Linked DNA regions of Homo sapiens: region 1 is linked to region 2. Evidence: promoter capture Hi-C in 16 types of primary human blood cells and fetal thymus (Javierre and others, 2016). All regions are on one chromosome and are shown on one strand. The core of a region is centred on a gene start or on the middle of the fragment in contact, and the rest is flanking DNA. Distances in the headings are between cores, read along the strand shown.

Region 1 (6,145 bases), core at 183-2,682, 700 kb before region 2:
TTCTTCCCAACTTAATCTATAGATTCAATGCAACCACAATGAAAATCCTGGCAAATTCCATTGTCCGAATGTACCACAGTTTATTAGTCCATTTGCTGCTTAAGGACATCTTGATTGCTTCCAATTTTTAGCAATTATGAATAAAGCTGCTATAAACATCTTTATTTTATGGCTAAAGTTATTTTGTAGATATCAACAAATTGACTCTAAAGTTTATACAGACAGGCAAAAGACCCAGAATAGACAACACAAATAACAGTTAGAAGACTTCTATCCAACTTCAAGACTTAATGTAAAGCTACGGTAATCAAGACATTATGGTATTGGTGTAAGAATAGACACCTCCCATTTTCAATATACTTTATTTTTTAAAAGTAGTTTTAAAGCCAGGCATGGTGGTGCACTCCTGTAGTCCCAGCTACAGGGTGCAGTGGCTCACGCCTGTAATCCCAGCACTTTGGGAGGCTGAGGCAGGAGGATCACCTGAGGTCAGGAGTTTGAGATCAGCCTGGCCAACATGGTGAAACCACGTCTCTACTAAAAATACAAAAATTAGCCAGGCGTGGTGGTGGGCACCTGAAATCTCAGCTACTCAGGAGGCTGAGGTAGGACAATTGCTTGAATCCAGAAGGCAGAGGTTGCAGTGAGCCGAGATGGTACCATTGCTCTAGCCTGGGCGACAAGAGCGAAACTAGGTCTCAAAAAAAAAAAAAAAAAGTTTTAGGTAGCACATAGCCACCAACCTAAAGACTATTTCCCAGCCTCCCAGCTGTGCCCGTGGGACTCAGTGCTGGCCAGTTGGGTGTGAGCAGGAGTGACTAGTGCTCCTTGCCAAACTGCCGCTAAAATAAAGGAGGGCCCCCATTCCCCTTCCTTTGGGCTGGAATGTGACCTGATGATGATTTATCTCCAACACTCAGACAAAGGCAACACTAAAAATGACAGAAGAAGACAAAACGAACCCAGATCTAATATGTCTCAGAGGAGTAATGATGAAAGAGAAATTTAAGAGTTTACTTTGAATTCTGAACGCAAATCCCCTCCACGGCCTTCAATAGCTTTTGAATCAAACCCACCAATTATAGAAGACAAGCCACAGCATCACCTAAAAGACCTAGGTTTAGGGTAGAAAACTCAATGGACTCAGGTCACTGATTCAAACTATCCAAGACATGGGGAAGCAAATCAAGGCCCACATCATCTTGACACTATTGGATCATCTTCTTGAATCTTCCACCTCTGCTCCTTTTTTTGACAGGAGTTTCCTTGTTTGATAGGAGGTCTGAAAAGCTTGGGGCCTTACCTCTGGAGACTTTGTAAACTTCATAGAAGGAATAGAAGTGGAAGCCTAGTGAGGCAAGTAGGTAAAGTGCCAGTTCCCATCGGGGCAGCATGGCTCCTTGGCACGAAGGTTCCCGATGCCTACGCTGAGAGTTTCTGAGAAACAGAGACAAAACTTTAAGCCATGAACATGACACTAGAGAACAGCATCTAAACATCAATTCAGTTAGTTCACACTCCCGGAGACCCATCACTATTCAAGGTGATACAGACATAACCCCAATCAAGCTTCCTCCTCCCTGTGAACTTACTCCATCCTGCATCCAACACACACACACACACACACACACACGCACACATACACCACACATGTGCATCCTGCCTGTCAAAGGGGTCAGGTCTTTTCCTAGGAGTTCCCACAGTCTCCCATCAGAGTATACATCAGACAGTTCTCTACCCATTGCATAATATGCCTGTCTCTTCTGTGGAGTGGACCCTCAGATAGCAGGGACCATGATCTCTGACTCACCAGCCCCTAGCACAGTGCCTGGGATGTAGCAAGAAGGGACTACCAGGTGCTCTGTGAATAATAAATGGCTTCAAAAAGTCTGAAAAGCACAAACAGTATACAAACCTCTAAATCAACAGGTTCACCATCCTTGTTGTCCCTTTCAAGTATCATACTATAGGCCAGGCATGGTGGCTCATGCCTGTAATCCTAACACTTTGGGAGGCCAAGATGGGAGGATCACTTGAGGCCAGGAGTTCGAGACCAGCCTGGGCAACATAGCCAGATCCCCTCTCTAAAAGCAATAATAAAATAAAAACTTAAAATCAGCTGTCTGCCATGCATCTATGCACTTTATTTATGTATTTTTGGAGACAGGGTCTATGTTTCCCAGGCTGATCTTGATTTCCTGGCCTCAAGTGATCCTCCCACCTCAGCCTCCTGAGTAGCTGGGTTTATAGGCACAAGCCACTGTGCCAGGCCTCATCTGTACATTTCTTAAAGGGCAGTTAATGACATAATCACAGACATCTGTGACAGACACTGCTTGTTACCCACCGCCCCTCACTACCCCTTTTCAGAATTCAGTCTCTCTTCTTACACATCAATTAAAATTTCCTCTGGACACCAACACTACACTGTAGCTAAGTGTGGACACCTGAATAGCTCCATTCAAAAGGGTGTGAGTGAAGGGACATGGCTGTGGCCATCTCTTTCTTTCCCTCCCTTTCCTGTTGAACAGAATTGGAACAGCCTCCGTGGATGAAGAGGTGAAAGCCACATGGACAAGACAGAGGCCTCTCAGTCCCCAAATCCAGGTACCACCCCCAAGCCCCAAAGTGCCCCAGACTACTTAGATCTAGACTGTTACAGGAAAGAGAAATGCATTTCTAGGTTGTTTAAGCCTCTCCTATTCTAGATCTCTCCATCATGGCAGCCATGACTATACTCTAAGTAATAGAGAAGGTATAGGAAAGTTAGGTCCTAAAATTCAGCAAATTAAATGATTCCAAATGTTCCAAGTAACAAAGAGTTCACTAAATTTAAACGCATTTATGGCCTTTACTGCTTTATTTAAACCTCTCAAGTATGTCTCATTGTGGATGCCAAAATAAGAGCAAAATTTTAAGCAGCACCTCCCACCAACCCCACCAAGTACTTCTAACATGTGACAGTCATGCCAAACCCCAGAATTCACACATTATCTCATTTTGTTTTCACAACAGCCTGGTGAAGTAGGTGGAAGTGGAACAGGGGAGGTAGGCATTTTATAGATGACAAATGTGATGAGGTCACAGAGCCAGAAATAACTGAGCCAGAGCAAAAAAGCAAATACTGCATGATCTCACTTATATGTGAAACCTAAAAAAAGTCAAACTCACAGAAGTGGTTGCCAGGGGCTGGGGCGGGGGAAGTGGGGAAGATGTTGGTTAAAAGATGTTGGACAGGATGAATAAATTCTGAGGATCTATTATACAGCATGGTGATTATAGTTAACAATAATGTATTATATTCTTGAAAAGTGCTAAGAGTAGATCTTAAATGTTCTCACCATAAAATGATAAGCAGGTAAGGTGATGGGTATGTTAATTACCTTGATTTAATCATCTCACAATGTATAGCTAGACATCACATTGTACACCATAAATATGTACAATTTTTGTCTAAATATGTGAGTAAACAAATAAGTAAATAACTGAGCCAAGGCTCAAAGCCAAGTCTTTGGACCCAGGCCCCTGCCCCTCCACTCTGCCATGGCCAATCCCATTAATGCCAGTGTACAGTTACTCAGACTTAGAGCCTGGCTTAGAATCTGCCGCACACACAAACTCCTTTCTTCAGACCACTGGGAGACAGAGCAGGAAGGGAAATAAACTTCAGCCTTGATAAACCACGATTTCAGAAATAAGCAGTCTTGCACCCAGAGTGCCCCATTTCGTTACCTAAAAGTCACCCAGAAAGTTTGGTCTGGACTTTTCCTGCAACCTAAGAGATCCAGAAGCAATCATTCATGCTTTAAAACACAAGCCTAAGCCCTAGTATTTCAACAACACTTTCTCAAGTTCCTTACTATTTTTCAGAACTGCTTCTAGCTTTATCCATTTCTATTCACAATTTATTTTTAAATACTTTCATCTTTAGAATAACAAGACTCCTTTCTGGAACTTTTCAGGAATTTGGTAGTCTTCCCTTTAGTGGGAAGGTAATTTTAACTTCTTGGCTTATAATTTAATGTCTCGCCTGTCAAAAGATGTTGGTATTACATCGGATGACCTCTTTGCCTCATGAAGAATCTGATTAGCAAAAAGCTGATCTCCTAATTGGGCGACTGAAATTTGAACACAAATGATCTTGTAGACTGAATGAAAGTTTTAGAAGGCCTGCCATTAGATGCTTTTCAGGGACATTCTATCTGAGACAATCCTCCTGCATTAAGGATTTAATCCTCAGGGAACTAGAAAATTCGGTTTAATAATTTTTCATTTTGGTGCTGCTTTTTTTTTTTTTTTCTTCCTGGAGACAGGGTCTTGCTCTGTTGCCCAAGCAGGAGTGCAGTGGCATGATCTCAGCTCGCTGCAGCCTCAACTTCCCAGGCTCAAGCAATTCTCCTGCCTCAGCCTCCTGAGTAGCTGGGATTACAGGCATGCACCACAATGCCAGGCTAGTTTTTTATTGTTGTTGTTGCCCAGGTTGGTCTCAAACTCCTAAGCTCAGGAGATCCGCCCACCGTGGCCTCCCAAAGTGCTAGGATTACAGGCGTGAGCCACTGCACCCAGCTTAGTGCTGCTCTTAGCTGGATTGTACAGTGAGTCCTTACTGAACATCACCAGTAGGGTCTTGGAAATTGTAACTTTAAACAAAACAATGTATAATGCTACTAATTTTACAATAGGCTAATTGATATAAGCAAAAAGTAAGTTCCTACTGCATATTTCTGGTCACAAAAACATCATACATCTAAATAAAGACCAAAACACTTCTAATAGTAAACACTGAAATAAACAAGAGCTATACACATACACTTAAAGATTAATAAGCACAGGTAAGATCATTATTTACCCAAGTTTGGTGAATCAGCAAGTGATGGCAGTTGTGATGGTGGTCGGTTAAACCAAGGAATAAAATGTTTGCAAAGCAAAAATTATAAGGAGCACCTCCTGCCACCATGCAGTTCAAAACATTTACAATTAGGGTGGGCTCACTGAGCGCTTTCATACTACATTTTTTTTGTCATGCATTTGTATGATTATCATAGACTTTACAAATTTTTATTAATTTGTATTCATTCATTCATTTTCCACCCCACTTGTTCCAATTTAGGGTCTCTGGTAGCTGAGCCCATTCCAGCAGCTCAGGATGCAAAGCAGGAACCAGCCCTGGACAGGATGCCATCCCAGCGCAGAACCCACTCATACTCACTCCCCCACACTCGTTACCAAACACAGGTTCAGCTGCTCACCACTTGCAAAACAAATTAGCAAGATAGAGGTATGGCAGAAAGAAAGTGACTTTATTACAGACCAAAGCTAGCCATGGGGAAGACGGTCTAGACTCTTGCCTTAATGGAACCACTTCAAATTTCCAAGCAAAGTGCAAAGGTTTAAGAAGGGGAAGCAAGTTGCGGCATGGGGTGAGGCAGTGCAGGCCGGCATGACTTGTTCCGATGCCGGCATGACTTGTTCCGATGACTCGTCTTGAATTGTTGCTCCATCTTGTGAACGGGCTGGCAACATCTGGGGCTCAGCTGGGTTGTAAATTAACTGTACCCTCAAAGCCATCTCCTGGTAGGGGAGATTTTCACAGGTGCCTGTACTATTTCAAGGTCTAGTCTCTGGAACCTCGACTTCAGGCTGAAGGAGCCTAAAGACCCTACTGAAAGCAGATAACAGTGGCCCCAAAGGCTCCCCAAAACGGGAGGCAATTGCAGGGATTTCTAGGAATGTCTGGCTTTTGTTGAATTTGAATTCCAAATTTGGGGTTGATGGCTAAGCCACTTTATGAGGCCTTTAAAAGGGACTAGATTCAGAGCCCCCTGCCTTGGACAGATGAGCATCAACAGGCATTTGATGCCATCACAGAAAAACTTAATAGGACACTCAGTTACATTCACACACTGGGACCATTTAGACACACCAATTCACCTAATGGGCACAGCTGTGGGATGTGGGAGGAAACCAAGTACCCAGAGAAAACCCCTGCAGACATAGCGAGAATGTGCAAACTCCACAGACAGTGGCCCCAGCAGAAACTCCATTTTCTTCTACTCAGTGGTATAAGGAAACAATAACATTGTTTCAATGAAACAATAACATAGTTTCAACAATGCTCTATGTTTTGTAGACAAATACACAGAGA
Region 2 (6,712 bases), core at 4,213-6,712:
TTTCCCTTCTTCTTCCCCAGAAGCTCCCGACCTGTCAGACCCACCATGCCACGTGGCTATGTGCCCCTTCAGACAGCTGTATGTCTCTCTCCTCTCATGGAGGCTGGACCATGGCCACATGGCCAACTACACATGGCAAATGTTATCCAAAGGTCATAAAGGTCGGACTTAGATCCCAATAACCTAATCCCCAGAGGTCAATGACCAAATAGAATCACAGAATAGAGACAGAGGTGACTGGGGTTAGAGGAGGGGGTGTGGCGATGGGCCAGCCTGTCTGCCAGAGGAATGTCAGGAAATATGGGAGGGGATGGAGGTGGTAAGAATGAAAAGATTCTTCTGTCTTCTCTGGGAGCCAGCCAGCCATGGGCCAGCATATGGCTCCACCAGGCTGTAGGCTGTACTGGGCTGTACCCCTCAGGAGGGCTGGGCCATTTGGAGGGCACACTGGGAGACAGAGCAGAAGGAGCTGTAGCCTGTGAGGTGGCCCAGGCTCTTGACCTCAGGGCAGGGGATCTCCTTCCTTTGGCAAAGGGGAAGTTGTGTCATCCTCTCGTCACGTCCTCTGCTTCACCTTGTCAGCTCACCAGAATGTTGCGGTCACCTTCTGTCCACGCCTCCTGGCGTGCTCCTGTCCTTAGTCAGAGCCACCCCTGTTGGTATGAAGGAGGAAACCCTGCTGGTATGTGCTGGAGCCTCTGAGATGGAAGAACTGGAGGCCAGCACCTTCTCCATCTGTGCCCATAGAAGAGAGGTTGTCAATAAGGAAAACAAATAAGGAGGTAGCACCTGGTGGGGTTTGTTCTAGATGTCTCTACAGCATCAGTGTCACTCCTGGAGCCCCTAGACAGTATCAGTGCTCCTAGGTTTGGAACAAGGGCACAAAGAGGAGGTTTTTTGTTGTTGTTGTTGTTTTAAGACAGGGTCTCACTCTGTTGCCCAGGCAGGAGTGCAGTGGCCCAATCTCGGCTCACTGCAACCTCCATCTCCTGGGTTCAAGCGATTCTCCTGCCTCAGCCTCCCGAGTAGCTGGGATTATAGGCACCCACAACCATGCCCAGCTAATTTTTGTATTTTTAGTAGAGACGGGGTTACACCACGTTGGCCAGGCTGGTTTCGAACTCCTGACCTCAAGTTATCCAACCACCTTGGCCTCCCAAAGTACTGGGATTACAGGCGTGAGCTACGGCGCCTGGCCAACAAAGAGGAGTTTTTAGACATTGGGAGACATGAGGTCCAGAGTCTGGTGAACTCTGGCCAAGGATTAGCCAGGGTGCACTCTGGGAGTTCAGGTGATATGGCCCATCTTTGGCCCTGTGTAATGGTTAAGAATATGCGTGCTGGAGCAAAATGGCATGGGCTCAAATCCCCAGTTACTAGCCAAGGCCAAGTTATCGAAAATGTGCCTCATTTTCCTTGTCTGCAAGATAAAGATAATTGTCTATCCCCACAGAGTTGTGGTGGGTATTAAGTGAGTGGATACATGCAAAGGGCTCAGAACAGTGCCTGGGCACAGCAAGCACTCAGCAGATATCAGCTGTAGTGATTTTAGGCCGATTGCCTGATTGCTCCCAGTCCTCGGGCTCAAGCTGCATGCACAGTTGTCCACTGGGTAAACATTCAGGTTGGATAGGTGAGGGTGGGGAGAGGAGAAGGGCTATGGAAGAGTCACTCATGACAGGCGACTTCTGTCCTGCTTAGCCTCCCCTCTCCTGAGGCTGGGCTCCTATCTGTGCCTCCGTAACACACCAGGCCCACTTTCTCTCCCTGGTTCCTGGGGAGGCACAGAGAAGAGTGTGACCAGTTGTCTGGACAGCTGAGCAGTTGTGTTGTAGTGCAGGGCAACGCAAGCTTTAGTCACATGGCAAATCCCCAGGGCCGTTCCTGGAGTCCACCCTGTCCCACAGACGAGGACTCAGCCATGATTCACTGTATTCAGGTGTGGCCTGAGCTTGAGTCACCTGGTGCCCCTTCCTCCAACACCTGAGAGTCACAGCCTGGACCAGGTTCTCCTATGCCCCCTGAACCTCTTCTCTCTCCTTTTCTTCCTCCTTTTCTCCTTCCTTTGTTCCCTATCCCTTGATCTCTGATTGATCAGATCTTGGCTGATCTCCCTAGCGACTTGGACGGTTTGAGCCTGACAGATGGATAATAGACACAGTAGCTTATAATGCCACCCCCACACCCTGTCAGAGACATTGCCAGGAATGACTGAGAAGCAGGCAAAGAAGGAGACTGCCTCTGTCAATATGGTGACATTTCTGTAATTGGAGATAGGTGCCTCAAAAAAGACCTCCGCACTCTGGCTGATACAGGAATTTCCACTATTAGTAATCCATCCCAGTGCCCAAAGCCTGGATTGTCCCCTCTGAGAATGCAACTACACATCAACGGCACAGGGGATGCATTGAACTGTATCAATTGTTTGTACTTTAGTGTGGATCCATTCATTCCACAAGTATTGAGCACCTACTATGTGCCAGGCACTTGGAAAACAGTAGTGAATAAGATAGAAATCTCTGCCTTCTTGGATATTACATTCTAGTTGGGAAGAGACAGAAAATAAACATAAGCAGATAAATTATATAGTTGGTTAGAAGCTGGTACATGATGCCCCCCTACCAAATAAGTAAATAAATAACTCACCAAAATATAGGGTAGGTGGGGTTAGGAGTGTTAGGATGGGGGACAGGGATGGGGCAGGGAAGTTGGCTGTAATTTTAATAGTGTGTTTAGGATAGGCCTCATTGAGAAGTTAGGATCTGAACAAAGACTTTGAAAGAGGTCAGAGAGTTAGCTTTGTAGATATCCAGGGGCAAGACCGTTCCAGGCAGCAGAAGCAGCTGGAGCCAAAGCCCTAAGCCTGAGCTAAGACAGGGATAGAGGCCATTGTAGTAGAGGTGAAGAGTAATGGGAGGAAGGTGGTGTAGGGTCCCCTAGACTCTGAAAAAGCTCTGGCCTTGGCCCTGAGTGGGATAGGGGCATGTGAAGATTCTGAGCTCGGGGTGCATAACCTGCTGTGTTGGGACTTGACTGTATATCAGTGAGGAGGCTGTTGCAGACGTCCCAGGAAAAGAGGCTCAGGCCAGGAGGGAAGAAGTAGATTCTGATTATTATTGGAAGGCAGAGCTGACCGAATTTGCTGATGGAGTGATGAGGTTTGAAAGATACTGAAGTCTGGGATGACTTCACTAGCCACTTTCCTGAGCACACATTCTAATAAGTCAAGGCTCTAGGGCAGATAAGTGCTCTGTTGTAGGAGGATGGGCGCAGGGAGAGAGGAAAGGTGTGCACACAGGGGAGGCTGAGGGGCTCCAGCCACAGTACCACACCCCTTTAATCTTAGCTGGACCCTGATCTGGCCTCAGGCTCTATTTTAGGCTACTTGACTGAACAAATTGGGTTCTGAAGCTCCAGAGCTTGTGCCTGGAGCCCTGGAGTTCTTGGGGGACTGGATCCCCACTTGGAAATGATCAGTGTCCCTCAGGAGTGAGGCTGGCTGGGCTGCTCTTGGGGGTCTGCATAAACAGCTTCCTGGACTTTGCCGGGAGTGTAGGGGAGAGCCAAGCACAGCAATTGGCATGTCCCTCCTGCGAAGCCAAACCACTCCAGGACCTGCCCAAGCCTGTGAAGTCTGAGACACCGAATGTGTATTTACCTGGGCTCATGGCCTCAGATAAAGGGAGGAGGAGGAGGATTTAAGGGGCCCCAGCTACTCATGGTGAGGCCCACCGCACACCTGCCCTGCCTTTTCTCCTCTGAGGATCTGGGATTGCAACACCTGCTCTCTTCTGCTGAGTTAATTATTAATGAGTTCTTTGTCACATCCTCTGGTGATGGGCAGAGGGCGAAAGTTTCATGAGCGCTCTGAGTTCAGGGAGTTGGGGAAGTGGAGAGAAAGAGACCACCAGGTGGGAGAACTGAAAACACAGGTGTGTCAGAGTCAGAGCTGACCTTTCTCGGTGGGGGACTTGAGGGAGGTCTCTCTGTGTTGAAGGGACACTGCTTCTACTGACCTTACTTGCTGAGTTGAGCTAGATTTCACTGGAATGCTTACAGGGGGCAAGACTCTAACATTTATTGGACTATCAATTATGCATCAACTTACATCAACAACTCACTGCCCACTTGCTAATTACACTATTTCTTCTGCCTACCTGAACTTATGCTTAATTCGAATCTGAGGGTTAGAAATGCCCAATTTAATCCACAAAATTCTACATTTCCCCCTTAAGGGTCTTCAAGCCAATTTCTTGGACATAACCCTCCAATGGTGGAGAACTTTCTGTTTAGGAGACACTAACAAAGTGGAATCGTAGTTAAGAAGCTCCTTTAAATAGTAGCTTTGAGGTCCTAGCATTCCAAAACGGTGCCAGTGCAGGCTCTCCAGGGCCAAGATATGGACTGGCTGACCCTCCAGGTTTCCCTAAAAGCTCTCTGACCCTAACCTGGGGGAAAGAGTGTCCTGTGAGACCAGCCTCTCAATTTGGACCTGCCACTTCCATTTACAGTGGCTGGAAGCCCAGGATCCCTGAGCAAGGAGCCCACAAAAGAAGCTGTGTTCTCAGGCCTGGCAGGAGGCCAGGGAAAGTCTGTTTTGACTTTGTCAGTCAAGCTATGCTTCAGCCTTTCCTTCCACCACTTGTGGTCAGGTCTGTTTTCTGGCCCTCCAGGCGGGCATTCCTGCCTAGGGAGGGAGGGGCTAGGAGACTAACCCTCCCCACAGGTGGGAGGAGTGACTCACAGGCAGCTACCTGTCCCAGGGCTCCCTGCCAACCCTGTGGAGGGAGCTGGAGGCGAGCCATTTAGTTACTCTGCTCATTTCTCTTAAGCTTTCCTTGGATGAGTTGAGCTTTGAATCCTTCCTGATGAACCTTGCCTTTTAAGGATCCTCCAAATGCCCCAAGAAGCTGGGATTTTTCATTTTTTTTTTCACTGGGGAGGGGAATGGTGCTTTCCAGGGTCCTGGATGTTTGAGTCTTCTCACCTTCCAGCCCGGTGATATGTCTGGAGCTTTAACTCTCTATATAAGCCCTAATCTTTGTGTTCTCTGCCTGATCTTCTGTCTGGGGTGGTCCAGGTCACAAGAAGAAGCTGACCCCTGCTGGCTTTGGGAAAATGCTGAGTTCATTGCCTGGCACAAATGCAAGGGCCCTTCCCCACCCTGTGAATTCTGGTCTCTGATGATCACTTACATGTGCCTTGTGCTTTCTGTTTGAGGGGCCCCTTGCAGCCCCCACAGGCAGGTGGGCATTGTGGAGCTCACTACAAGAACTCTGGGACGGACCGACCAACCCACTTGCCCAGTCCCGTCCTGGGAGGTGGGGGTGCAGTGACGACAGATGGGTGTGACGGCTGCCAGATTCCTGAGACCCGCCCTGCGGTGGGGCTACACCCAGCCAGGGAGTCTCCAGAGGTGAGGCTGTTGTTTAAAAACCTGGAGCCGGGAGGGGAGACCCCCACATTCAAGAGGAGCTTTCAGGCGATCTGGAGAAAGAACGGCAGAACACACAGCAAGGTATGTTACCTGTCTTTACCTGCCTGGTGCGGGCCGGATGCGGGAGGAGGACTGTATCTCTGGATGCCTGGGGCCTGGTTTCAGGGCCTGATTTATTCCTCTTCCTGGGAGCTCACTCAGGTGAGCTAGGTTAAAATGTCTGCTACAGTTTTGATTTCTTTTTCACATTTGATAAGCACCTCAGTGGCTTAGAAGAAAGCAGGTTCAGATCCGGGGTTGAGCACAAAAGAGAAGTGAGAAGGGTGGGCTGGCCTGGCTCAGAATGCCTACTTGCAGGGGGATTTTCAGTCAGGGGTGGGAAAGCTGAGAAAGCACTGGATGAAAGTCAGAAGATGGGTCTCTCTTAGGCCATCGTTAGCTGTGGGACCCCAGGCCACATGTTCCCTCCCTGGGCCCATGACTCTTTTAGGAGAGGGATTGGAAGGAATGATTTTGAAGCATTAGGATCTATAATTTAAAGATGCCAGAAATGTCCTCAATTTCCCCCCCCGCCCCTGCCTTGCCAAGCCCCCAGCCCTCCACCCCAGCCAAAAGAGTTTGTGGCTGTCATTGGAACAGAGTGAACATCCAATTCAAGGCAGAAGGGTCACTGCATGAGCAAGGGTGGGGCATGTTTCCACAAGGCAGGCCTGCCTCTGGGACCCCACGGTGGCTTTCGAGCATCCTTCCCCAGCCTCCTTCAGAATCCCTGCTTTGTGGCCTCCCAGCCCCACCCCTCTTGTCGAGCCCCAGCCCATCATTGAAGACATTTTGGGTTGCTTCCCTTTCAGAAGAAACCCTCACTCACTTGTTAAAGACAGCCATACATCTCTCCCTGTTGCATCCCAGAATTGTGGGCACAGAGCCTCAAACTCAAAGTGGCCCTGAATGGTATTGGAGGCCATGCCCGTGACAGGAGAAGGTTTGCCTCCAGGCCGTCAGCCACTCTGACTCATTCACTTTGGGCGGGGCTGGGTTGAGGCTGCTGGTCTAGGCCCTGAGAAAAGCCAGCCCTCTCTCTTGGGGCTGGAACTAGGTCTTGGCCCTTTCTACAGCTTTTCTCCTGCAAAGGGTCCAGCCTTTTCCTGCTCCCCACGTTGTCCTTACGGCTGTGTGGGGTAGGGCAGGGTCCACACTCCTTCCCATCCATTTTAGAGGAGGAAGCTGGAGTCTGGGAAGGGATGGGATTTTCCCAGGGCACCCTGTGAGTCACAT

The links. The method cuts DNA at HindIII sites, captures the fragments that hold promoters and counts their contacts. A CHiCAGO score of 5 or more calls a contact.
Region 1: a contact is called between a fragment that was not itself captured here and the fragment with the promoter of LAMB3 in region 2, in 1 of 17 cell types (M1 macrophages). The highest score is 6.0, in M1 macrophages.

The regions. Positions count from the first base shown.
Region 1 is chr1:210,344,225-210,350,369 of GRCh38, reverse strand. It overlaps HHAT (hedgehog acyltransferase), which reads right to left. Exons shown (of 12, transcript NM_018194.6): 2 at 1,304-1,437. The coding sequence starts at 1,394. Among named protein-coding and RNA genes, the nearest start is that of HHAT, 18 kb to the right of the region's middle. The HindIII fragment of the contact is 279 bases long and covers 1,293-1,571 here.
Region 2 is chr1:209,651,175-209,657,886 of GRCh38, reverse strand. It overlaps LAMB3 (laminin subunit beta 3), which reads left to right and starts at 5,462. Exons shown (of 23, transcript NM_000228.3): 1 at 5,462-5,518. RefSeq lists enhancers at 462-531, 1-1,191, 4,761-5,960. The HindIII fragment of the contact is 2,819 bases long and covers 4,835-6,712 here.